Regions from separate parts of the Homo sapiens genome. Here regions 1, 3, 4, 5, 6 and 7 are each linked to region 2. The links are contacts of gene promoters, found by promoter capture Hi-C in blood cells and fetal thymus (Javierre and others, 2016). All regions are on one chromosome and are shown on one strand. The core of a region is centred on a gene start or on the middle of the fragment in contact, and the rest is flanking DNA. Distances in the headings are between cores, read along the strand shown.

Region 1 (3,421 bases), core at 172-2,671, 4.2 Mb after region 2:
ACACAAATTATAAAGTGATTTTTGTAATCAATAATTTAGATTATAAATGAGGAATGGAAAGAGTTTATTAATTTTTTATGTTTACATTGTTTAACATAATGTTCAGAACACAGTGGACACTCAACTATTTGTGAATGAATAAAGAATTACCTGCATTTCCTGAAAGGAGAATTAAAAATTATAGCAAATATTCCAGAGGTAAATTATTTCACTTTTGAAAACATTACAGTTCACTTTCACATACATGGCACTATAAGTAAACTGTGTCTAAGAAGGTATAGACTTAAGCCTTAGTATCTATGTTTGGAAAAGGACATAATATCTATCCCTTTTTTGCAATTACGAGGATGATTAAAAGTCCTTTGTATATGGTAATGTATAATTATTATCATATCTAAGTATTATCATCCATATCAGGCTGTTTAAAGTAACATAAAACCCTTTCTTTTCCCAAAATCTTCACCTACATGAAAAAATATTTTAAAATCTCTTTCCTTTCATTAATGGTGTTAATGTTTTATAGCAATGTTTATAAAGCTTCAGTGCTAAGAAGAAAATAATCAGAAGACTCACGAATTGTATCCTTTTATAACGATATAACAGTCTAATGCAGTTCACAAACTGCTGGTTCTGGAGGTAGAGAGACAGATGACAAGGAGAAATAGAAAATGCGTAAGAAAGAAAACTCAGTTCACGAAAAGCATAGCCTTTGAAGTAGTTAAAAGTTTTACTGCTAATAATTGGTATTCATATACAAAAGTAACGTAAATGAAAGTTGTTTTTTTTTTTTCAAAGCCCATACATATGAGAAAATGGCTTGAAACTGTAATATTCGAGACAAATATAAATATCTTCTTATACTCTGATTGCTAAGTAAAGGTATCATTTACAAGGGGGATTAAGTGGTTTCTACTACATAAAGAAAGACTGTCCTGGGACTTCTTTGGATATGCTCATATTTTCAAGAATTTCTCTTAAAATCATTACTTAATGTACTTAAACATGTAGGAATAAGAAAAAATGAAAGTGATTGATTACAACTTGTAGTTTTGCAAGAGGAATGTCAGGGTCACATTTGGTTAAGCTTTATACACTTTGTCCCCTCCATAAAAGCAAATAAAATCAACTCATTGCTTAATTCCTTTAATAATTTTGTGTTCAATAAAGTAAGGCAGTTAGGTATTATGTCAAGATTAGGACTTAACTGTTTCACCAAGGGTTAAAAACAAAGCCACCAATTTAAGCCCCTAAAAGGTTATAATACCCGCTGGTTCCATCTTAAAATCTGCAATTTTCAATCAACATGTTAACTTGGATCGGAATTCTGACATTTGAATTATTCTATTTTAAGCTCCAAAAAATGGACACGCACAATTTTATGCAACGTCAAGGACCTGTAAATTTAAATACACTTCTCTGTAATCTGGTTCACTTCAGAGTACAAATTCATTGAACAAAAAAATGCCTTCATCGCCATATGCATTCACATGAAGCCACATGGGATAAATGCATTTCCACTTTAAAAAGTATCTACTTTGGTTCAGAAATGCCCATTTAAGAAAAACCTACACTGAGATAAAGTGGACATTTTTCTTTTAAAACTACGTGACAGGATTCCCTCTTGACCTCACGTTTCTCCCCGCCACGTATTTAAATTTGGGGCAAAATTTCTGATTAAATGACTGATCAAAGTAATGGGGAGAATTCTTCAACGCCGGCCAAAAGTGCTTAGTCTCAAACGCTGTGAGGGAGCATTTCCTAAGCTTTGGGCGACTCGTTAACGGAATCTTAAGGGCAAGGTCCAACCACACTCAGAATCAGCAGGAAAATGACCGTTTGGTAAAACTCAATTACACCCAGTAGGCACCTCCCCAGGCCCGAAACAGCACTCGCCCTTTCTGCTCAGCTAGCGCGGGACATCGCAACGCCCAAGGCCCTCCTATCTCAAAGGCGCTTGCGCAAAATCTCCCCACAGACTCAATTAAACCCTTCCTTAGGCCGGTCGAGGCGAATGGTTTTGAAATTACTGTCGGGTTACGCCTCACTTTAAAAAACAGTAGGTATGACACAGCACACCAGAACGACCACTCACCGAGGTGGTCCTAAATTCAAACGACAGATTTAAGCTTCCTCTCGTGATTTATCTCGCGCTGCCGGAAGCGGAACTACCCGGGTCCTTTAGAGGGCAGTCCTTTGGGGAACCTTGGAACCACGGTCAGAAAGGTTAGGACTGATCATTTGGCTCTTGCCGGAAATCGTTCCGCCCGGTGAGGTTTCGGCGTGAGACCCGAGGAGGGCGGGGAAGAGGCGTGACGGAGATTCCTGAGGTGTAGTAGCCTGAGGTTCCCTTATGTGGCCCTATAGCTGTTACTGAAGGAAGTAGCCTACGTCCACGCCTACAACTGAAGTCTCTTGACAAACACCTCACCCCTGCCTCCGGGATGAAAGGGGGTAACCTAGACCTGAATGGGCTTGACCATCTCACAACTGCTCGCGTGACGACCGCATTCGTGGCAGGTGAGGGCCCAAAACCGGAGGAGAACCGGAGATGCGGAACCTGATCATGCCAGGGTTGAGGCGGCTGCTGGGCTTCTGCTTTGTCTCCTGTGCTCTGCAGACCCTAAACACATGCTCCACCGAGGGGCTTGTGCTGGAGAGAATGACAGCCTGGGCGTGGAGTGACAGTACAGCTTTGAGGGTCCTTTCGCGCCTTGATTTCTCCTCCTGCTCCCCCATGGCTTCCCTTTTTCATTTCTTGGGTTCGAGACGCCAGAAATTGAAGATCAGCTAAAAGGGAACCGCTGAGCTTCTACCCCACGCTGTGCCTGGCTCCACTGAAGTGATTAGCCTCGAGTTATGGGACTGCTGTGGGTAGAGGTGGCTTTTTAAAAAATTTTCTGCCTTAGTCTTTATCCCTCTCTCTGTCAACCCCACACCCACTTTAAAATAACAAAAGCCTCATGTGTTGCAGCTTTTCATAGTAGGGACCGAGGCTGCAGGGCACTGCCGCACCTAGTCATTTGGAGGTCGTTGCAGCCTTCTGCGCCTTGAAGAAGAAGGGGCCAGGGTGATGATCCCTGGATCTCATTCACGAGGTTCTTGACCACTTCCTGGGAGATTGCGACTCTTGGTGTCCTTTGGCTAGTAGTTGTCTTGCTGGAAGGCTTAACTGTGGAAGTGGGAAGCATAGCTGACCTTAGCACGTAAAATCCTCGCTCTACACTGGGACAGGATTTTGTTTTGCTATTGAGAATTCTTAAATGAAATAGATAATTTTTTTGTCTCAGATAGATAAAATAATAACGATAGTTGCCATTAACTGAGTCTTATGTGTGCCGAGTGCTTTACATAGTTTGTCATTTATTCCTCTCAACAATTCCAGGAGGTATGTTAGATTATTATCACCATTTTACAGAGTTAG
Region 2 (3,281 bases), core at 117-2,616:
AACCCTAGTCAAAGTGCCTTACTGAACAATTAAGTCTTAAAAAATCTAAGTATGTTAACAAACTGCCTTTCCCGTTTCTTCCTTTAAAAAGTTCACTCCCCTTTTCGTTCTTTCCTTTTCACCTTCCTTTCGTCCCTCAAAATGGCTTTCTCTGTACATTTTAACTTCCTTTCCCCTCCATCTCCCTTATCCGAATAAGTCCTCTGAGACCCTTTTCACAACCCTGAGTTCTGAAGCTCCAAGCGCACACAGCGCTGTGTCCTCTCAAGCGTCTCCACAATGACTACCCTAAGTTATTAAACCTCTTCAATCCTCTGTCTTTTAGCAGTTGCTTTGCTCCTGCTAAGTTTTTAAAGCGGCACTCGAAAGAGGTTTGGAAACCATCCTCACTCATCCATCCAGCGCGCTCCAATCAGCCTCCCTCGCGGACCTGCCCCCCTCTCCCAGGGCCTCCATCCCGGTCCAGGAGTCCCTCTTCCCGCCTCAAACTTCCCGCAGACCCGCCCCGCGCCCTCCCAGGCTCGCCCGAGCCGCCGCCCCCTCCCCCTCCCGCCGCTCCCCACGTGCTGGGAGCCCGGGTCGCGGCAGGACCCACGCACCGGCTAAGTGCTAGCCATTCGCGGGTCTCCTCTCGCGGCCCGGTCGGCACCAAGCCGAAGAGGCCGGGGCAGGGCCGCCGGGCCGGCGCAAGGATGCGTTCTGCGGCCCCGGCCTGTACTCGCCGCTCACACGCCCCCTGCGCGCCAGGCCCGTACACCGCCACCGGCACTCACAGAGCCACCCGGCCTTCACCCGGCCGCTGGGCCGCCGCCTGGGCACCGCGCCGCGCCCGCCCTCCGCCCGGCCGGTTCCTGTCCTCTCCGCCACATCCTGACCCGCCCGCCGCCCCCTTTCTTACCGGCGGGCTTGGCGGGGCGGAGGGAGCCGACTCGGGTGGACGGCCTCCCCCGCGCCCAGGCCCGGGATCTCCGCCGCCCAGTCCTAGGGCTCCGGCGTCTCGGGGTAAGCAAGAGTCCGTGCGGGGGAGGGGGAAGGGGACAGACGCGGAGGGGAAGGGGAAGCCCCGGTCCGCAGCACCAACGCGCGATCCCCTGCGGAGTGGAGCTAACAATTCATTATTGAAGCACCAAGGGCGAGGGCAGCAAGAGCTATAAGTAACCAGTCGTCGCCGCCGCCGCCGCCGCCGTCGCGCGCGCGCTCCCGCTCCCTCCGCTTATCTGCCCCCGGCAGCCGCCATGACGCCGAGAAAGCAAGCGAGCGCAACCGTCTCCGTCGTAGCCGCCGCCGCCACCGAGGTCGCCGTCGCCTCCGCCTCCCGCGCGACGTAAGCGCCTCTGCTCACTCCCCTTCCCGACAGAGCGCGAGGCGGGCGGGCGCGCGCACGCCGAAGCCTTTCTGCTCGCGCGCGGGAGGCGGGAGGGACTACGTTGAAGGGTCGTGGGCGTAGGAAAAAAGCGATTGGTGCTGGGGCGGGGCGGGGGGGGCGAGTGCGCGCACGCGCACGAATGGGAGTGCGCACGGCGGATGCGCAGAGGCTGTCGGACTCTGACTGCGCGGAGACCGCTGGACTCTGGTCGCGGCCTTAGTCCGCTGATCCTCGCTTGGGTGCCCGCCCTTAGCGGCCCGGCGTTGAATTCCGGGAAGTGGGAGCTTCAGGCTCGCTCCGTGCGGGTATGGGCGCTAATGTCACTTGGGATGGTTGCGCAAGGACATCGCGGCGGACACTGACAAGGAACCGGGGAGGAACGGGGGTGGGGAGAGACTGCGATGGGACTCGGGAAGCCGGGAAGGGCCGCGCTGAATAAGCCTAAGGGGCCGGGTCGCAAGGAGTGTCGGGTAGCACAGGCCTCGGCTCAGTCGGAGCGCCAGGCCTCAGGGTCCGGGCGGGGGCTGCTGCGTCACACCAGGCAGCCTGGGAACGCAACTGTTGGGCAACCGTGGTGGCCTCTCGCCACCTCTTACGCTTGGGCGATCTGCGATTGACGCATCCTGGGAGCTGATGTCCCGCACGGGCGGGGCGCCGGAGGAGGAGAGAAAATAGAGACCCGGTTGTTGACAGCCTGTGATGCCGCTTGATTCATGTGTGGGTGGCCTGGTTTAGAAATGTACCACCCTTCCTTTCTAGGTTCCTCCCCGGAGGGCGGGGTGACGGGTGCGGCGCCGAATCGCAACAAAAAACGCTGCTCGAGGGATGTTAGTAACTGTCTCAGCTTAAGTTGCTGCCTTTTAGCTTACAGTTTGTATCGTAACTGTAATTGTGGATCTTAGTTAAATCCCTTCAGTGTGTTGGAAACATATTTTTAAGTGTATTTTTGAAACATACTTAGAGCATTTTGAAATGCTTTTTTGAAAGCGTTTTTTAAATCAAAATTCTGTTACACTTTATTTTTTTCAGTCTGCAGATGAACTTGACTCACTCAAGGTTAATGATTTTTGTTTTTTATTTATGTTTGTAGAGGCGGGGTTTTGTCATGTTGCTAGGTTGGTGTTGAACTCCTGAGCTCGAGCGATCCACCTGCCACTGCCTTCCAAAGTGCTGGAATTACAGGCGTGAGCCACGGCGCCCGGTGGCCGAGGTTAATAATAATTAAAAGTTTCTAATCCCATTGTTCAGTTATTTGATTTGGTGTAAAGGCGCACTTTCCAAGTCAGATGAGTTTGTGGTAACATACATTCCCCAAATAATTATTTTTCCCTTGTGGGAAATATTCCAGTTTTAGGCTACCAGCTGTTTAAACAGTTTGGTTCAAATCCTTCAAAAAAATCTCAAAACATAACTCCACATATGTATTTACTACATATTGAAGGGTGTATTCACTTGGAGAAGTAGGAGAAAGCAAACAGATGCCAATGGCCTTTTTGAAAACATGTATCTATCAGCAATAATTGAATAGCAAAACGAAGTGGAACACTACCATCCTTTGCAATATTAGATAGTTTTAATACTGGGTTGTGAGGAATGAAAAGATCATACAAATCGTCATTTCTGAAGTCATTTCTGAAGTCGTCATTTCTGAACTGAGTGCTAATTTTTCATATTAAGCTTTATGTTAATATCCTTAATGAGAGGAACTTCCTGTGCCCGTAATTTCTCCAGAGAAACTATTAACATACACAGAATGTTGTAATCAGAAGTATAGTTCAGTTAATAAAGTCCTCAATTACAACTCTGACATTTTGTCATTGTCTTATGAAAAGAATTACTGTATATACAGTCTATTTTACGTTTTCCGGAAGCACGTCAGGCAGGTTTTTTGTTTTTTTACTACTAATTGTGCCAT
Region 3 (3,550 bases), core at 459-2,958, 3.9 Mb after region 2:
TTATCTAACATATAATTTACTCCCCCAGCCCTATTATCTGTTCCCACTAGAATTGAAGCTCCTTAGGTTGGGATTTTCACAACAGTTTCCTGGGACATACCAGGTGCTCTATAAATATTAGTTAAATGAATAAAATTTCTAGTAAAATCAAGTATTTAAGTGGGAGTTTCTGGAAAAAAAAGACCTAATTGTCTGAGAGAGGGATTCTACTAGAGAATTTAAAAATTAGCCCAAACGAGGCCCTTTCTTCCCAGAAGGAATCTGTAGGTAAAATTCACGATAAGAAAACAGCCCTTCAGCTAAGAGGTAAGTGATTTATACTTGAATATGTGAGGAACATGGAATGTCACCATTCATTCCCGGGCCTGTTTTCCTCTGTAGAGGTATTTTATTTCCCCCCAGAAATAGACAGCATATTGGCTTAAGCCCTTTTTAATTTTCCCTACAAAGCAGAGGTCATTTAAGCTATTGTTTTCTGTTTTTACGGATTATAAAAAGAGAGAAAGTTGGTTTGCTAGATTAGCGATTAACATGGGGTGGTTCTATGTATTTTTCTTCTGTGATGCTGTAAATGAAAGGTCACCTGCCAAATTTCGGTTTGCCCTTGAGAGACCTGCGATCATTCCTTCTGCAGGCGGAATTGTGGAAAACACCTGAATGGCATTGTGCCGTCTTGGGGTTAGCCTGCTAGAGATCAAGTAAGCACCTCTTGGACCCCTGTTAGACAGAAAAAAAATTAAAGGAGAAAGCCTGCACCATAGAGAATTAAAAAGGAGGCGGGTGAGTTGCCTTTCTCCTCTCACCTCCCCACATGTATTTTTTTGAAGAGTTGATTTGTGTTCCCCTGTAATACTTGCATTTGCACTTCTGCATGGTCCTTGATTTTGCCCTATACTTGTATTTATATGTTTATATTCGTTCTATCTTCCCCATAAGATGGTAACATTGTCAAAGGCAAACAGTTTGTCTTTACTTTAAAATTGCCCAGAGCATTCTATATAGTATTTTAGACAAGGAGCATTCAATTAATGTTTACCTGACAAGTAAACAAGAGGAAAAATTAAGGTTTCAGGAAGGAGACTGTAACATTACCAAAAATCATATTAAGGATTCAGAATAATCAAAACTGGCATTTGGTCTCCCTGGCATTTAGAATGAAATAAAAACTAGACCCCATATGATGGATAAAATGAATCATGGGACTGCTCAAGTAGATTATTATTATTGTTTTCCTTCCAAAGCCTGGTCTGTGGCATTTTGTTCCAGAGGAAACTTGAGAGCTGTGGTGATTAAATCTTACCAAATTAGAAACCTCTGAAATGAGTCATTTTTATTTTCATTCACTTCATTTTTACATGGAAGATTGCATAGACAAGCAACCAAATGAACGAAGCTTAGTTTTCTGGTGGGTTGGTGATGACAGTTTTCTCAGTTTGTAGTTGTCGTGGTTCCCATGGTAATATTTTATATGTAGATGCTATACAGGTCAGGTTTACCCGTTTGTGTTTTTGGAGGGAATACTTTGTGTGCATTTGAATCAGGCAGTCCTTAATTCTCAGAGATCTACTAATAGTATGAATATAAGATCAGAATAGAATAGAATTATCTGTTGTGGAAAACTCCTTGGATTTGCCGTCAGAAAACCTGATGGGCTTCTCTCTGTGCCTCTAACTTGTCTTCTGCAAAGTGAAGGAATTGAGTGAGGTACTTTATAATACAAAGATTCTCAACCCTATTGGATCCAGTGTCTCCTTTTTCATAGCATATGTTTTGCAGTGCCCTCTTTATTACCAAGAAATGAAATTTATGTGTAATATAACCTGCCTAAGTGTGTAATTCAAAAATATGCATATATATGTGTGTGTATATATATGTGTATATATATATATGTATATATATAATTCCTAACTTTAATATAAAAGAGCAATACAGGAATAAGTAATTTATAATAAGATAATGTGTATTTCATTCAATATGTAAATGTTTAGTTATGATTACACCATAAGACCTAATGAAGTGTTCAAAAGCTTGATCCTATATGTAGAATAACAGTATGTGTGACAGCTACAAATGCAGATTGATGTCTTTGTTATATTGACCACTCAGATAAAGTATTCCCCCCCTTATCTGTGGTTTCATTTACTGTGATGGTTAATACGTGTGTCAACCTGATTGAACTGAAGGATGCAAAGTATTGTTCCTGTGAGGGTGTTGCCAAAGGAGATTAACATTTGAGTCAGTGGGCTGGGGAAGGCAGACCCACCCTTAATCTGGTGGGCACAATCTAATCAGCGGCCAGTGAATATAAAGCAGGCAGAAAAATGTGAAGAGGTGAGACTGGCCTAACCTCCCAGCCTACATTTTTCTCCCATGCTGGATGCTGGATGTTTCCTGCCCTCAAACATCAGACTCCAAGTTCTTCAGTTTTGAGACTTGGACTGGCTCTCAATGCTCCTCGCCTGCAGACGGCCTATTGTGGGACCTTGTGATCATGTAAGTTAATACTTAATAAACTCCCATATACATATATATATATATATATATATATATATATATACACACATATATATATGTATATATCTCCTAATAGTTCTGACCCTCCAGGGAATCCTAATATAGTTACCCTTGGTCAACTATGGTCCAAAAATTTGGAGAGTTCCAGAAACAAATAATTTATAAGTTTTTAATTGTACACCATTCTGAATAGCATGATGAAAACGTGTGCCCCCTGCTCCATCCAACCCAGGATGTGAATTATTTCTTTGTCCACTGTATCCACATTACATATGCTACCCACCTCACCTGTTAGCCATCTGGGTTATCAAATTTTAAAAGAACATAGCATATATAGGATTCAGCACTATCCACAGTTTTAAGCATTTACTGGGAGTGTTGGAAGATATGCCCCGAGGATCAGGGAAGACTACTGTACCACCATTGGCATTGTTGTTGGTGATGTGATTTTTCCAAAATGATGAGCAATTCTTGGCAAAATTTCAAATAAAACTAAATATTGTCTTTCTTGATTCATGTAGTAACTTCATTTCTAAACATAAGGGGTTTTAAACCATGTAAAAAATACTTGTGTTTTTATGTAAAATGGATTTGGGTCGTAAGCTTAGCTCATCATAAAGACATTTATTACCTATGTGATTTGTAGGACATTTGAGAGTTAAGTAGGATGTGGTGCCGTACTTCATTAAAAAAAGGTCGTGCACATTGCATGGTGTACCTCCCGACTGAACTCCTGCCTACTCTTGCTGGCAGCTCTCCCCACACCAGCCCTGACAACCAGATTTCTGAATCTCACACTAGGGGGCAGTACTGCATCCCATGAAAAATCATTGCTCTAAGGCAGGTTTCTTAACCTCAGCACCTTTTTCTTTCTTTCTCTTTCTTTCTTTCTTTCTTTCTTTCTTTCTTTCTTTCTTTCTTTCTTTCTTTCTTTCTTTCTTTCTTTCTTTCTTTCTTTCTCTGTCTTTCTCTCTCTCTCTCTCTTTCTTTCTTTCTCCTTTCATATTTTGGGTCAGGTAATTCTTTGTTGTGGGGG
Region 4 (3,510 bases), core at 246-2,745, 3.8 Mb after region 2:
ATGACTCAAGTAGTTATTTTAGTTTCTCCAGGGTAGGGGGAGGGGGGAAGGAATGGAATTTCAGTGGTCCACATTTTAAAAATGAATACATATATAAAAATATAAATACACTCTTCCCCAATATTTTGAAATAGCCATTCCTCAGCTAACTTTTTTCATTCATTTATGCAACAAGTGTTTATTCAGCCCACACTAAACGTTTGGCTTTTTCCTAGGCACTGACATACAATGGTATACAAGACAGTTATAGTCACTTTCTTATGACTGAAAGGTCTAGAGAGGGATGCAGATCTGTAAACAGAGAATTATAAATTTATAAAGAAAATTTTTAAAAAATTATAATGCCATATGATTCATGCCATGATAAGGGTAGTGAAGAGAACCTCAGAAGATAGGATAGCAGGGTCCTGGGTAGGTGAATGTCACACAGTGCATCATCTCATCCTAATTGGGTTGGTGGTGGTGAAGGAAAACTTCCTAGCAGCATGAATACATGAAGACCTGAAGCATGAGTGGTAGTTAGCAGCTGAAGAGGTGGGAAGATTGAAAGAGACCAAAGGGAGCATGATGCCTTAGAATGGAAGTCAGGCAGAAAATGTTAAACAATACATAGGTAAGAGCAGGAGGGAGAGGCGTGGCAATCTGGAGAATCCAAGCTGTCTAAAGGGAAAAGTAGATACTCATTTCAGCCAAGTATTGTCAGGTTGGGATGCAGGCCAAGTGTTGCCAGATGCCTTGATTTCTAAAGAGGAGCTTAAAATTCATATTTTATAAATATGAAATCTCCCAAATATGAACTAACCCAAATGTTTTAAAAACTATTCTGTGGGCCAAACCAGACAAATCTGTAGTTGGAATTCAACCTAGGGCCACCACTTTATGACCTCTACATGTAAGAAACTGAGAGGAGTTTAATGTGGCTAAAGGCATAAACCTTAAACGGACAAGCAAGGGAAGCACTGGCTTTGTGGAACTTGCTAAGGAGGGGTGGCCTAATTCTAAGGACAGTGGGTGACATTGAAGACTGAAACAAGATGAGATTTGTGTTACAAGATGCAGTCTAGCTACTGTATAGAGAATGAGTGGGAGGAGGCAGTGGTGGAAGAAAGATAACCATTTGGAAGCTTACCGTGGTCATAGGAAGAAATTAAGTGTGGCTAAAAGCAAGGTATTCAAGCAGGTGGGAGATGAGTGGATTTCAGAGATATGTATGATACCCCTATGTTGGGATTCAATTCTCCATTAGTCACTCAGACTTTTGCATGTCTTGTGAGCAAAGGCATTTACTGCTTTCATCCCAGACTCTCTTAAAGACATTTGTATGGTAGATAGTTTTGGAAGATAGAGGTATTCTTTCCCTCTGAAGCAAAGGGCAGGTAGGTTTTACTGTCCAGTTTAAAAGATTCAAGTACCCTAAGCTCAGGGTTCCCCTCTGACAATGCAGATCATCAAGTATCTGCTTCACATCACATGGGGGGAACTGAGTTTCAGGACATTGGCACAACTATGCTGATACTACTGCTACTGATATTTTTGTGAGTAGTATAGTCCTTTGTTTCTCACCCTAGAATTTTCTGTCTTCTTCCAGCATCCCCATGAAACTGTGGCACCCTGATTTCGTTAGCCTGCAAGTAGGATAAAAATCTCAGACCCTTAATTATTGATAGCCACTAGCCACATTGTCTGTTTAAATTTAAGTATAAATTAATTAAAAATGGAATACGATTTTAAAAATCCATTCCTCAGTTGCAGTAGCCACATTTCAAATGCTTAATAGCCATACAAGGCTAGTGGATACTGTACTGGGCAGAGAAGATATAGAAAATTTCCATCATTGCAGATAGTTTTATTGGACATTGCTGGTTTAAAGCTTCAAATTTTGTTTGTGTTGGTGAGTGAGTAGAGACAGTAGAAGTTGTTGATTTCGACAGCATAAAAATGATGTTTGACTTCATGTTAGATTCACAGGAGTCCCTTTAATACAAAGAAAATATTTCTGTTTGGATAACCTATACAGTACTTAGTTCAGGCCTCTTGGGGAAAAGAAAAGTGGAAAAGTATCTACACTGTCAATTTGGAGACTGGGCAGACTGGGACCATGTAGCAACAGAAGTTCTACATATAAACAGCGTTACTCAAATCATGTGTGATTGTGAGATTAGGATCTGTGCCCAAAGGAGATTGAACTGCTGAACACTGTCTTGAGCTTTGTCTACTAACCATGCTTAACACAAAAGGACAAGAATTGCATGTTAACAGTGAGGGTCTGGAGCATAGCCAGTCCAGCAGCACCTCGGCAGTGCCTGCTGCAACCCAGCTGTGCTGGTGTGGTCTCACAGAAAGGATGGAGGACAGGAACAAGATTTCCAGATGGCTCTTGTTCAGGGAGTTTAAGAGGGTAGCTTCAAGAAAGGAGGGAACTGGACTCAAAAAATATAAAACATAATACTTTAAAGTACAACTTTAAATGACACCGCAGAATTAAGGAAACAATCAAAGCAGCAGATCTGCTTCCCTATCAGATAGGAGAAGCTCATTTTGTAGAGAGTGTGGGCCACAAGTACTGGGAAGCAAATGCACAAAGAATAATAGGTCCAGCCAACAGTTGCAGTAACAAAGGACGGTTTTTACCTGCATTGAGTGTACAGTTCACTGCTGCATGTACAACATAAGCAAAACAAAAACAGTGGTAGAAATAAATAAAAGTAAAGTCTGAGGCCCTTATGGAAGAATCATACTACTACCTGCTTTTTCCGTGGCTAAAAATGCCTTATAAATTTCATATCTTGAGAATTTCACTTATTTATGCCAAAGTAAGTTTGTTTTAAAATAGTACTCATTTGTAGTGCAGTAACATTTTACTTATATAAAGATTAATTCAAGCTTTTAAAAGTCTGAAGTTTAGAATATTTTAAAGATAGAATTTATTATTTTTAAGCACTTATGTTATCTTTTAGAACTCTTTTGAAGGGAACTTTTATGAAGATATTAGTTAATTTTGAATAGCATGATAATTGTTGCATGTAACTGGAGGCTTCTATAGTGTTTAAAGAAAACTTTTTGTAGGTTATATGTATACCTGTTATTTACATTACTAATTACATCAACAAATCCTTATTTTCATAGACATTCCTTTCAAATTCAGTGAATTCTGGGAGAGCCGAGGTCATATGCTATTAGGGTTTGTATAAAGGTAGAGTCCCTTGCATAAAGCAGGCATTTGTTAACTAGTGAGATTTTTCCCCATTTAGTTTAAAAACGTTACTTTGTTAAATGTCTTTTTCTTTTAATTGTGAGTTTTGAAATCTTATTTTTGTAGGGGTAGAAAACTCTGGTTATCTCCCCCAAATTCCCCTTCCTCAGCCCTGCTGAATCTGGTAAAGTCACTTGTTCAGTGTGCTTTCATTTTTCCTTTCTCTTTTATTTGCCACAGTTCTTACCTGTGCTTCAGGCTTGTCTTGCCTTGTGCCTCTGTTCTCTTCATATAAACAGCATGAAATTGGAAATACT
Region 5 (3,330 bases), core at 74-2,573, 4.2 Mb after region 2:
TATTAATATATTGAGATAGGGAAAGGAAGTCTGTTACTTGGATTGAATACACTTCCTAGCTGATATACATACTAATTCAGGGTGACTATTTTTAATTCAAAATTAGAAAGAAATCCCAAAGAATAGGTGTCATTTGGGTCAGCTTCAATCTGAGTCTTGATTAATGGTTTGAAATGACCCTTGAAAAAGGCTTTAACTTCTTTGTTTCAAAAGCTTGCCTAGGAATGATCCAGGGAATCCATTTGTGAAATGGTATCTTGACATCCTTACTCTGTCAGCCCCCCAACCATCAAACCAGATATTCCGTCAGTTCTTACAATTTTAGTTTTCTGTAAGACATTTAAAAAAATTAATTTTCCTACTGAATATGTTTGTTCTCTTTCCTTCAGAGGTTTACAAAAAGTTCTTTGTGCATTTTATTGGAACAATTTAGCAAATACTCTAAGCTAAGCCATTAGAAACATCTGTATTTTTATTCAACTATACAATAAACCTCCCACATTGTGTATTATGTTATAATATTTAGCAGTGTTTTCTGCATCAGTATTTGCTGACAAAAGAGTTCATTTTGTACTGTCATCGTTATGCTTTCTGTGTAATAGTGAAGCCATTTTAATCACAGCAAAAAGAACAAGTTTTCCCAATCATATGTCGCTTTTTTGGTTTTTTGTTTAAGCAATCTCACAAAATAGGCCTGCAAATATTTATTGTTACCCTTTATTTTTTATTTTTTTTTTTTGAGACAGGGTCTCAGTCTGTTACCCAGGCTAGAGTGCATGATCTTGGCTCACTGCAATCTCAACCTCCTGGGCTCAAGCGATCTTCCCATCTCAGCCTCCCAAGTAGCTGGACTACAGGTGTGCCCTACCACTCCTGGCTAATTGTTGCATTTTTTGTAGAGATGGCATTTCACCATGTTGCTTAGGCTAGTCTCGATCTCCTAGGCTCAAGCAATCTGGCTGGTAGGATTACAACAGGCATGAGCCACTGAGCACAGCCTATTATTATTATTATTATTATTTTTTTGAGACAGGGTCTCACTGTTGCCCAAACTGGAATGCAGTGGTGCAACCATAGCTCACTACAGCCTTCACCTCCTGGGCTTAAGCAATCCTTACACGTTAGCCTCCTGAGTTGCTGGGACTATGAGTGTGCAACACCACGTCCAGTTAATTAAAAATTTTTTTTTTTTTTGTAGAGACGGAGTCTTGTTGTATTGCATGGGCTGGTCTTGAACTCCTGGTCTCAAGTTATCCTCTCACCTCAGCCTCCCAAAAAGCTGAGGTATGAGCCACCATGCTTGGCCCTATTGTTACCTTTAGAAAAATTTTCAAAGTCCTGGTTTGGTTATCAAATGACTTTAAACACGACTGGAAAAACTGCTAGCTAATCATAATGGCTTCATATTATCATTAGCAAATACCTTGAAACATTATATGCACTTAGGGTAAGGCTCTCCATCAATAAAAGTGGAAGTGAACTGATATTTCAAAGAGTATTCTTGATAATTTTGAATTTTGATGCCTAATTTCCTATCAGATCTGATAACTATAGTCTCCCTTTACCTTCAGAGAATATGTTTCAAGGCCCCTAGTGAATGTTTGATACTGCAGGTAGTACCTAACCCTATTTATACTATGTTTTCCCCTATACATACATACCTATGATAGAGATTAATTTTTAAATTAGGCACAGTAAGAGGTTAACAACTAAAAATAAAATAGGACGATTAACAATATGCCAACATCACTACTCTTGCACTTTGGGGGCATTCTTAAATAAAATAAGGGTAACTTGGATACACACTACTAACCACTACATTTGATCTGATAACCAAGACAGCTATGAAGTGACTAATGATGGGGAGAGAGTAGCATATACAATGAAGATATGCTAGACAAAGAGATGATTCACGTCCCAGTTGGACAGAGCAGGACAGCATGAGATTTTATCACTATACGCAGAATGGTGTGCAATTAAAAAACTTTTAAATCATTTATTTCTGAAATTTTGTATTTAATATGTTTGGACTGCAGTTGACTATAGGAACTGAAACCTCAGAAAGTAAAACTGCAGATAAATGGGGACTATTGTAGTTAATATTTGTATTCATCTCATTGATGTGTCTAACAAAGAGCTGGAAGTTAAATAGACGTGCCGGCGCTATCACTTTCTTGTGGTTGATGATGGGTGTTTGCCTTTTAGTATTATCTGCTTTCACTGCAAAAATCTAAGCTCCCTGGCCATTTTGTGAGTAGTGTGGTGAATGCTAGATGATATCCATACTTTCATTCAACTGCTGAAAGCAAAAGTATGGGTGAGGAAACATGTGGATTCTCACTTTTCTTTCAGGATACCTTCACATAGCATGTGTGACATACATGTCTTGTTGATTGAGTCAGAATGCTATTATCAATCGTATACATTATTAATAAAGCTTCATTTCTTATTTTTGGGATTTAAAAAATATAAATAGAAGTTCCAATAGCCTTCCCCCAAACTGGATGGCCTTTACGTACTCCATTGCTCAGACCACTGCTATGTCAATCAAGGCAGGCAAGACTACCTTGCCTTCATTTACAAAATTATCTTGCTTTATTTGCAAGATTGGCTTTTATATGTTGATTACTTTACCACATAAATCTCCTATTATTATGCAGCCAAATTTAATGTTTTTCCATTGAAGTTTATACCACTATTCCTAGGTTTAGAATGTGACCTCCATTTCTAGAGATTAAATGTCAAATATATTTTTTTCTGTTTCTACTTTAAAAATTAAAATTCTTTTAATTTACCTGAAAATACTTTTGGTATTGGATTCTAAAATCATATTACAGATATAATTTTAAACAATTAGCAAATTGTTACCTGTTAATTAATTACATGATCCTCCTCTACTAGACACATTTGTGACACTAGCTTTATCATTTAAACCATTGTTACCAAACTTTGTGCCAAGTTGCCCCCTTAACATCTGTTTGACACCATGAAAACTACCAGTTTAAGGTAGTTCAGTTTCAACATTAGATCAGGTTACAATTTGTTTGATGACATCATATCTTTACAGAACTGTTTTCTTCATCGAATGCTGTGATAAAAAGCAGTTACTATGTAAAAATCAGTGTGAAACAGGAAATGAGGGTGGCAGTGTACAATATGATCCCAAGGTCTGAGAAGTTAAGCAGTGGTCAACAGGTACACATTACCCATTAGCAAGTAATTATGGTTAAGAATGAAATGAAAGGGCTGGGTGCGGTAGCTCACGCCAGTAATTCCAGCACTCTGGGAGGTCGAGGCAGGTGGATCATGTGAGTTCAGGAGTTCAAAACC
Region 6 (3,413 bases), core at 91-2,590, 4.2 Mb after region 2:
AGATTTTATGTGTATGAAAAATGCTTTGTAAATATGAGACCTTATGGTTTTTTCACTTTATTTTTTTCTATTCTTCCAGAGAGTAACATTATTAATATCTAAAATTTAAAACATTTTCTCTACATTTACATATTAATTCATATATATGTGTTTTTATATATACAGCTATAGCTATAGAAATGTATGTTCGTTTTAAATGGTTTGAAAAGTAAAAGCGTACCGAAAGCCATTTAATCGTCACTGTATCTATCATATTTTTTTCCTATAGAAAACAATACATACATAACAATCACATTTTACCAAATTAGAATCACTTTTCTCTAGTATGCTGTGAACATTTCTCCATGTCATTAAATACTATTTAAGCATAAGGCTTTTAATGCTTAGGTAATGTTCTATCATTGTGATAATATCAACTTTATTCAGCCATTTTTAAAATACATTTATGTTCTCAGTTTTAATAATTAGTTTCTCAATAAGCTAGAAAAGAATTGTGCATAAATTTGTGTTCTTATTGCTGAATATTTCCTCAGAATACCTTTTTTGAATATTCGAAGTGACATTTGTTTATTTAAAAAATAAAAAGTGTTGAGATATATACCCTTTTTAGTTATAGAACAACAATAATGTCTTTTAAGAAAACTACAATAATATATTCATTGTGAAATGGAGCAATAAAACAATAAGGATGTTTCCCTTTTTCTTCAGGAGAGAAGTATATAGTATTCTTCAAGCTGAAGGTATTTTACTTCCTCGTTATGCTATTTTGAACCGTGACCCAAATAATCCCAAAGGTAAGAGTAAGAGATTTTAGGTAAGCTTCCTTTGCCACTTGACATACTTTTGGGCCACATTCTTACAATAATTAACTGGAAGGAATTTAAAGAATTCATAGTATTCTATTCCATTTTAAAAAATAATCTAAACAGACAAACATATTCAATTAAAAGGTGACACTGAGTTAAAAGGCTACCTAATAATTTAGGAATTATTTATCCTTCTCTTCTTTGGCCTACTTTTGACATATCTCTAAGAATCATGAGTTAGAATTTTGAAATTACATACAAGTAAATGTGTATTGATTAAAGGTGAACAAGTGATTTATCTATGACTATTGAATTAAGTATTAGAAACTTCATGCTACAATGCCAAAAACTAAATACTGGCCAAGAATTTGGAAATACAGTTGGCCCTGGAACAGCATGTGTTTGAACTGTGCTGGTCTGCTTATTCATGGAATAAACATGAATTGAAAATACGGAATTCGTGGGTCCCACATATACTGATAGCCAACTTTTCATTTACATGGATTCTGCAGAGCCAACTGTGGGACTTGAGTATGTGAAGATTTTGGTATACGAGGGGGTTCCTGGAACCAGTCACCGCGTATGACAAGGGGCAACAGTACTTCTAAGTATTTATTAATATTTTAAAGCACTGTTTGCTCCTTTTTTTCTGGTTATCTAAAACATAGCATGGAAGCTATACCTAACTTAGTCACAAGGCAAAATACGTGTTTGTCTTGAGTTAACATTTCTGTTCACACTTAGTATTGTGGGGAATTTTGATGAATTTATCATACCTTAAACCATCTTTTATTAAAAACTAGGGGGGAGGCAGAACAAGATGGCCAAATATACCCTCCAGTGATTGTCCCACTCCCCACAGGAACACCAAATTATAAACTAGCCATGCAAGAATGCACCTTCATAAGAACCAAAAAATTAGTCCACCAAGGTGGTGCCTCTAGGAGTCAGCAAGAGTTTGTAGCATTCCTGGACTTAGGGCGCCCCCTAGTGCTAATACAGCTGCAGTGACCTCAGGCTTAGATCATAACACTTAGTCTTTTTTGAATATGTGGAAAGCTTTCTCAAGAAGGATGGATACAAACAAGCCCAAACGGTGAAGACTGAAATAAATACCTAACTTGTAAATACCCAGACATCAGTGAATGTCTACAAGCATCAAGAACATCCAGAAAAATGTGACCTCACCAAACAAACTAAATAAGGTACCAGTTACCAATCCTGGAGTGATGGAGATATGTGACCTTTCAGACAGAGAATTCAAAATAGCTGTCCTGAGGAAGCTCAAGAACTTCAGTGTAACATGGAGAAGGAATCAGAATTGTATCATGAGAAATTAACAAGGAGATTGAAATAATTCAAAACAAGCCAAAATTCTGGAACTGAAAAATTCAGTTGACAAACTGAAATATATATCAAAGCCTCTCAACAGCAAAGTGGATCAAGTAGAAGAATTAGTGAGCTTGAAAACTGGCTATGTGAAAATCCATAGCCAGAGGAGAAAGAGAGGAAAAGAATGAAACACACTTACAGGACTAAAGAGACCTGAGAGAGGAGCTTGAACAAACTTCCCAGGTAGCACTTTTCATCTTTTTAGCCCACTCCTTTCTTCGTTTTTCTTTAAGAACTTTGGGACCTACGTAGTTAATAAGGGGAAGGGAAAATGTTAAAAAAAAAAAAAAAAATCTTAAAAATAGCCTCAAAGGGACAAATCCAAGAATTAGTGCTCTTAAAGAGAACATAGATCATGGTAGAAAGTTTATTGAAATAAGCAATAACAGAACTTTCCAAACCTAAAGAAAGATACGAATATGCATAGGTCATAGAAGAATATGAAGATTTAACCCAAATAAGACTATCTCAAGGCATATATTAATTAAACTCTCAAAGGTCAAGGATAAACAAAGATCCTTAAAGCACCCAGAGAATAGATGTATATAACATGTAAAGAAGCTCTGATACAACTGGCAGCTGACATCTAAGCAGAAAGCTTATAGGCTAGGAGAGAGTGTGATGGCATTCAAAGTGTTGAAGGAAAAACAAAACTTCCAACCTAGAATATTCTATTCAGCAAAATTATCCTTCAGGCCGGGCGCGGTGGCTCACGCCTGTAATCCCAGCACTTTGGGAGGCCGAGGCGGGCGGATCACGAGGTCAGGAGATCGAGACCACGGTGAAACCCCGTCTCTACTAAAAATACAAAAAATTAGCCGGGCGCAGTGGCGGGCGCCTGTAGTCCCAGCTACTCGGGAGGCTGAGGCAGGAGAATGGCGTGAACCCGGAAGGCGGAGCTTGCAGTGAGCGGAGATCGCGCCACAGCACTCCCGCCTGGGCGACAGAACGAGACTCCGTCTCAAAAAAAAAAAAAAAAAAAAATTATCCTTCAAACATGAAGACATAATATACTTTACTAAACAGAAACTGAGGGATTCATGAATTACCAGTATCATGGAATTTTTCTGTCCTTATAGGACAGGATAGGAAAAAGATCTTACAGATCTTTTACAGGAAATGCTAAAAGGAGTTCATCAATCTGATAGAAAAAGACGTTAAAAATAAGAAATCATCTGGGCCGGGTGCAGTGGCTCACGTCTGTAATCCCAACAC
Region 7 (3,252 bases), core at 266-2,765, 3.9 Mb after region 2:
TATCAGCTTAAAAAATATAGAACATTTACATGTGGCTATGAACATTCTGATGCTAATTTTTTTGTTTGATGACTATGTACTTTAAAATCTGGCATTGTCTTTCATGAGATTTACAAGTCCTGTGTCCATTGTGTTGTTTACTTAGGTTATTTGGCTTTCCTCAAACTTAAACAAGCATTAGCTGGTTGCTCCAAAGAGTAACAAAAGAAGATGCAGGAAAATGCTTGGGGCCAGGTGCGGTGGCTCACACCTGTAATCCTAGCACTCTGGCAGGCTGAGGCTCGCAGATCACTTGTGCCCAGGAGTTGGAGACCAGCCTGGTCAACATAGGGAAACCCCATCTCTACAAAAAATAAAAAAATTAGCTGGGAGTGGTGGTGGGCTCTGTTAGTCCCAGCTACTTGTGGGGCTGAGGCAGGAGAATCACTTGAACCCGGGAGGTTGAGGCCATAGTGAGTCATGATGGCACCACTGCACTCCAGCCAGGGTGACAAAGTGAGACAATGTCTCAAAAAAAAAAAAAAAAAAAAAAAGAAGAGAAGAAAAAGAAAAAGAAAAGTGCTTGGAATGGGAGATGAGTTATCCTACTTTGATACTTCTTGTTTCCTCTTTCTACTGATGTCTTTCTCTGCACATCCTTAGGTAAAACTCAAAAATTACTATTGAGATTTTTGCAGGAACCAAATGAGACAGGAAGAAATGTTTTAAACTGCTGTCTAACCTCTAATACTGGTGATGCCGTTTTTGGAGTACCACTAACAGTTTAAAAGTGCTTATCAGAGCAACTCTCGCTGCTTTAATTTGCGTGTACAGATTGCTGTTAGTGTTGTTACTATCTGTTTTGTATCAGGCTAGCTAATTTCCTTGTTTATTAACTAAATGACTTTCTTAATGGCTACCCTTTTGACAAATGAAGAAATCTTAGCTGCTCTGAGAGGGAAAACCAAAATTAAAAATTCACAGTGAAAGGGATGAGGAACATACGTATTTGTGCTGCTGCCGTGTGGTTGGTGTGAGAGAAAAATCTGGTGATTGACCTTGATCCCTAACGGAAAGTCACAAAAATATGTATAATTTGGTCTTCAGCCATAAAATAAATGGCAACTCTCTTCACTTAAAGCAGGGATTTTCATTCCTTTGTTTTGGGTGCGGAAAAGGGAATCTTTTCCAACCTCATTATCAGAGAGTTTAGTGCATTTTTTCCTGAAATGTTTTACAATTTCCATTTTGTCAGACACATTTTGTTGGAGTTCATAGTTTATTAACCATGAGTTATTTTTTTTAGTTTATACTTGAAGATTTAGAGGCCTGTGATATTTTGTTTAAAGGCTTCTAAATGATCCAAACAAATCAGAATATGCACCAGCCTCAGCAAAAACTCCTGTGATCTGTTGACAGATTTTTGGATCTGGGCCCTTGGAAGAGGCACTGGACATTTGTAACAGGAGGTAATTTGAGATCTGTACAAACAAGTTTTTATTTGTTCAAGTTAATGAGGGCAACACCAGTGGAGTTGGACCCTCTGTAGCTAATAGTCTGTGAGCTCCATGGGCCCTTCATGAAGTCAGTCTCCAAAGGTCACCTGCAATCCATGTTAGGAACCAGGTTTGTCGGTCAATAGTCTAGGACTCATAGATCGATCTGTGCCTCTGCAACCAGGGAATCTGACATGGTACCAAAATGTTTATTTATTTCCCAGATGTCATCCCAGAGTTTGGGCAATGAGATTGGATATTTGCAGTTCCACACAGTGGAAATTCACCTTTTAAATAAGGCAAGAAAAATTGATCTTCCTAGTGTCTGGTAGGAGTCTGGTAGGAGTCATCTTTGCTCTTGGTAAGATTATAATTCTCTTACCTGTTTATTGTCATTTTTTTGAGCACCACAGTCAGCCAAATAAGATTAGAGAAAATTGTGAAAGAGAAAGCATTTCTTTCAATTCAGTCCTTTCATTCAACTCTCTTTGTACTTTGCCTCCTTCATTTTCTTTCGTTTGCTCATCACATTCAGAAGCTCACATTCCCTCATCTTACATGAGGGAAGCTATAAATTTCCCTTTTTGAAATAGTCATCTGCTATCTGTGTAACTATGAGCAAGCTGCTTAACCTCTTTGTGCCTTGGTTTTCTTATTTGTAAAATGGTAATAGATATTACCTGTGTCATAAAGTCGTTACATGGATTGAATGCATTAAGGTGTGTCTAACACTTAACTCAGTACCTGGTTGTACAAAGTGCTAAATGACCATTTATCTAATTATTGCTAATGGAACCTAATAATAGAATAATGATAGAGAGCCATATGCTTCATTGCCAAGTTTCAAAATGCTAAACAAAAATGAATTGTGAATTATTTTGAATGTGCAACAGCACAAGGGCTGGTGTTTTGCTTCTTCTGTAAAAAACAGACTTAAAGAATATCTTTAACATACCAAAGGACTGTTGGGTCATTCTTCAGAAGACTACTGGCATAAAAGAGATTGTCCTAAGAATCCCAGGAATAATAATGAGTCTCTTATTTTTATTGGAAAAGGAGACAACAACAGCCATGGAACTGGTTATTTTATGTATCTTCTGTAACTTTCATTTCTCTCATAATAGACATGGTGCTTTTAAAAATCCAATGTGAATGCTCTAAATCATAAGATCATTATTAAATATTATTTTAAAATTAATATGTCATGGTGAGTGTATTTCTGAGCCATCACATTCATAAACATTTAGAATATAACCTCACCCTTTTGCTTAGAGAATACCTTATGCAAAATGATTTTGAAGGACATTTTGTTTCCTAGTATGTGTTTTCAGCAGGTGGCTAATGGCTTTCGACCTGCTGTAGCAGTATACAGAACTGAATGTCAGGCAGAATATTTTTTAAAGCTGCATTTCCATTTTGCATAATGAAGCACAATAATTTTTCTGAGAGTGCCTTGAATATTTTTCCAAAGAATTATTGATAGAGATATGTCATTTTGGTAGGAAAGAGAAGAGAAAATTGGCAATGTTCCAGCATTTAGGTTTTAAGAATATTTAAGTATAATCAGATTGCTAAATACAAACATTTTTTTAAAATAGTATCAGGTCAAATGTATTTACATGTTAGAAGCCATATAAAGTACATGGTATTAGCCTTCCACCTTTCCTGTATGCTTAGGCCATTGTTCCTACTACTACTACTACTAATAATAACACACTTCAACCTACTCACTTTTCTCTTTAGTAATTTCCATTTTCTCTTGAAATTCATACAGTAT

What was found. Contacts are between HindIII fragments. The CHiCAGO score rates a contact against its expected background, and 5 or more counts as called.
Region 1: a contact is called between a fragment that was not itself captured here and the fragment with the promoter of CHD1 in region 2, in 13 of 17 cell types (non-activated CD4 T cells, total B cells, total CD8 T cells and 10 more). The highest score is 44.2, in non-activated CD4 T cells.
Region 3: a contact is called between a fragment that was not itself captured here and the fragment with the promoter of CHD1 in region 2, in 1 of 17 cell types (activated CD4 T cells). The highest score is 5.5, in activated CD4 T cells.
Region 4: a fragment that was not itself captured here is called in contact with the fragment with the promoter of CHD1 in region 2 in 4 of 17 cell types (total CD4 T cells, total CD8 T cells, non-activated CD4 T cells and 1 more); the score reaches 11.0 in total CD4 T cells.
Region 5: a fragment that was not itself captured here is called in contact with the fragment with the promoter of CHD1 in region 2 in 3 of 17 cell types (erythroblasts, total CD4 T cells and total CD8 T cells); the score reaches 6.2 in erythroblasts.
Region 6: a contact is called between a fragment that was not itself captured here and the fragment with the promoter of CHD1 in region 2, in 8 of 17 cell types (fetal thymus, non-activated CD4 T cells, total B cells and 5 more). The highest score is 16.4, in fetal thymus.
Region 7: a contact is called between a fragment that was not itself captured here and the fragment with the promoter of CHD1 in region 2, in 2 of 17 cell types (total CD8 T cells and neutrophils). The highest score is 5.7, in total CD8 T cells.

What each region holds. Positions count from the first base shown.
Region 1 is chr5:103,117,972-103,121,392 of GRCh38, forward strand. GIN1 (gypsy retrotransposon integrase 1) reads right to left here and starts at 2,167. Exons shown (of 8, transcript NM_017676.2): 1 at 2,093-2,167. PPIP5K2 (diphosphoinositol pentakisphosphate kinase 2) reads left to right here and starts at 2,330. Exons shown (of 31, transcript NM_001276277.3): 1 at 2,330-2,517. RefSeq lists enhancers at 1,303-1,804, 1,805-2,305, 2,141-2,400, 2,431-2,620, 2,671-2,730. The HindIII fragment of the contact is 679 bases long and covers 1,083-1,761 here.
Region 2 is chr5:98,927,641-98,930,921 of GRCh38, forward strand. It overlaps CHD1 (chromodomain helicase DNA binding protein 1), which reads right to left and starts at 1,367. Exons shown (of 36, transcript NM_001270.4): 1 at 899-1,367. CHD1-DT (CHD1 divergent transcript) reads left to right here and starts at 922. Exons shown (of 4, transcript NR_151718.1): 1 at 922-1,002. LOC100289230 (a long non-coding RNA gene) reads left to right here and starts at 1,494. Exons shown (of 1, transcript NR_036530.1): 1 at 1,494-3,281. RefSeq lists silencers at 511-1,140, 1,401-1,610 and enhancers at 1,384-2,282, 1,771-2,100. The HindIII fragment of the contact is 7,543 bases long and covers 1-3,041 here.
Region 3 is chr5:102,777,363-102,780,912 of GRCh38, forward strand. The region is part of intron 1 of PAM (peptidylglycine alpha-amidating monooxygenase); the gene reads left to right. Among named protein-coding and RNA genes, the nearest start is that of PAM, 24 kb to the left of the region's middle. The HindIII fragment of the contact is 634 bases long and covers 1,392-2,025 here.
Region 4 is chr5:102,758,796-102,762,305 of GRCh38, forward strand. The region is part of intron 1 of PAM (peptidylglycine alpha-amidating monooxygenase); the gene reads left to right. Among named protein-coding and RNA genes, the nearest start is that of PAM, 5.2 kb to the left of the region's middle. RefSeq lists an enhancer at 3,294-3,443. The HindIII fragment of the contact is 746 bases long and covers 1,123-1,868 here.
Region 5 is chr5:103,099,386-103,102,715 of GRCh38, forward strand. All of the region lies in intron 4 of GIN1 (gypsy retrotransposon integrase 1), which reads right to left. Among named protein-coding and RNA genes, the nearest start is that of GIN1, 19 kb to the right of the region's middle. The HindIII fragment of the contact is 2,224 bases long and covers 212-2,435 here.
Region 6 is chr5:103,137,676-103,141,088 of GRCh38, forward strand. PPIP5K2 (diphosphoinositol pentakisphosphate kinase 2) reads left to right here. Exons shown (of 31, transcript NM_001276277.3): 5 at 709-794. Among named protein-coding and RNA genes, the nearest start is that of PPIP5K2, 19 kb to the left of the region's middle. The HindIII fragment of the contact is 1,046 bases long and covers 818-1,863 here.
Region 7 is chr5:102,794,680-102,797,931 of GRCh38, forward strand. The region is part of intron 1 of PAM (peptidylglycine alpha-amidating monooxygenase); the gene reads left to right. Among named protein-coding and RNA genes, the nearest start is that of PAM, 41 kb to the left of the region's middle. The HindIII fragment of the contact is 8,006 bases long and covers 1-3,252 here.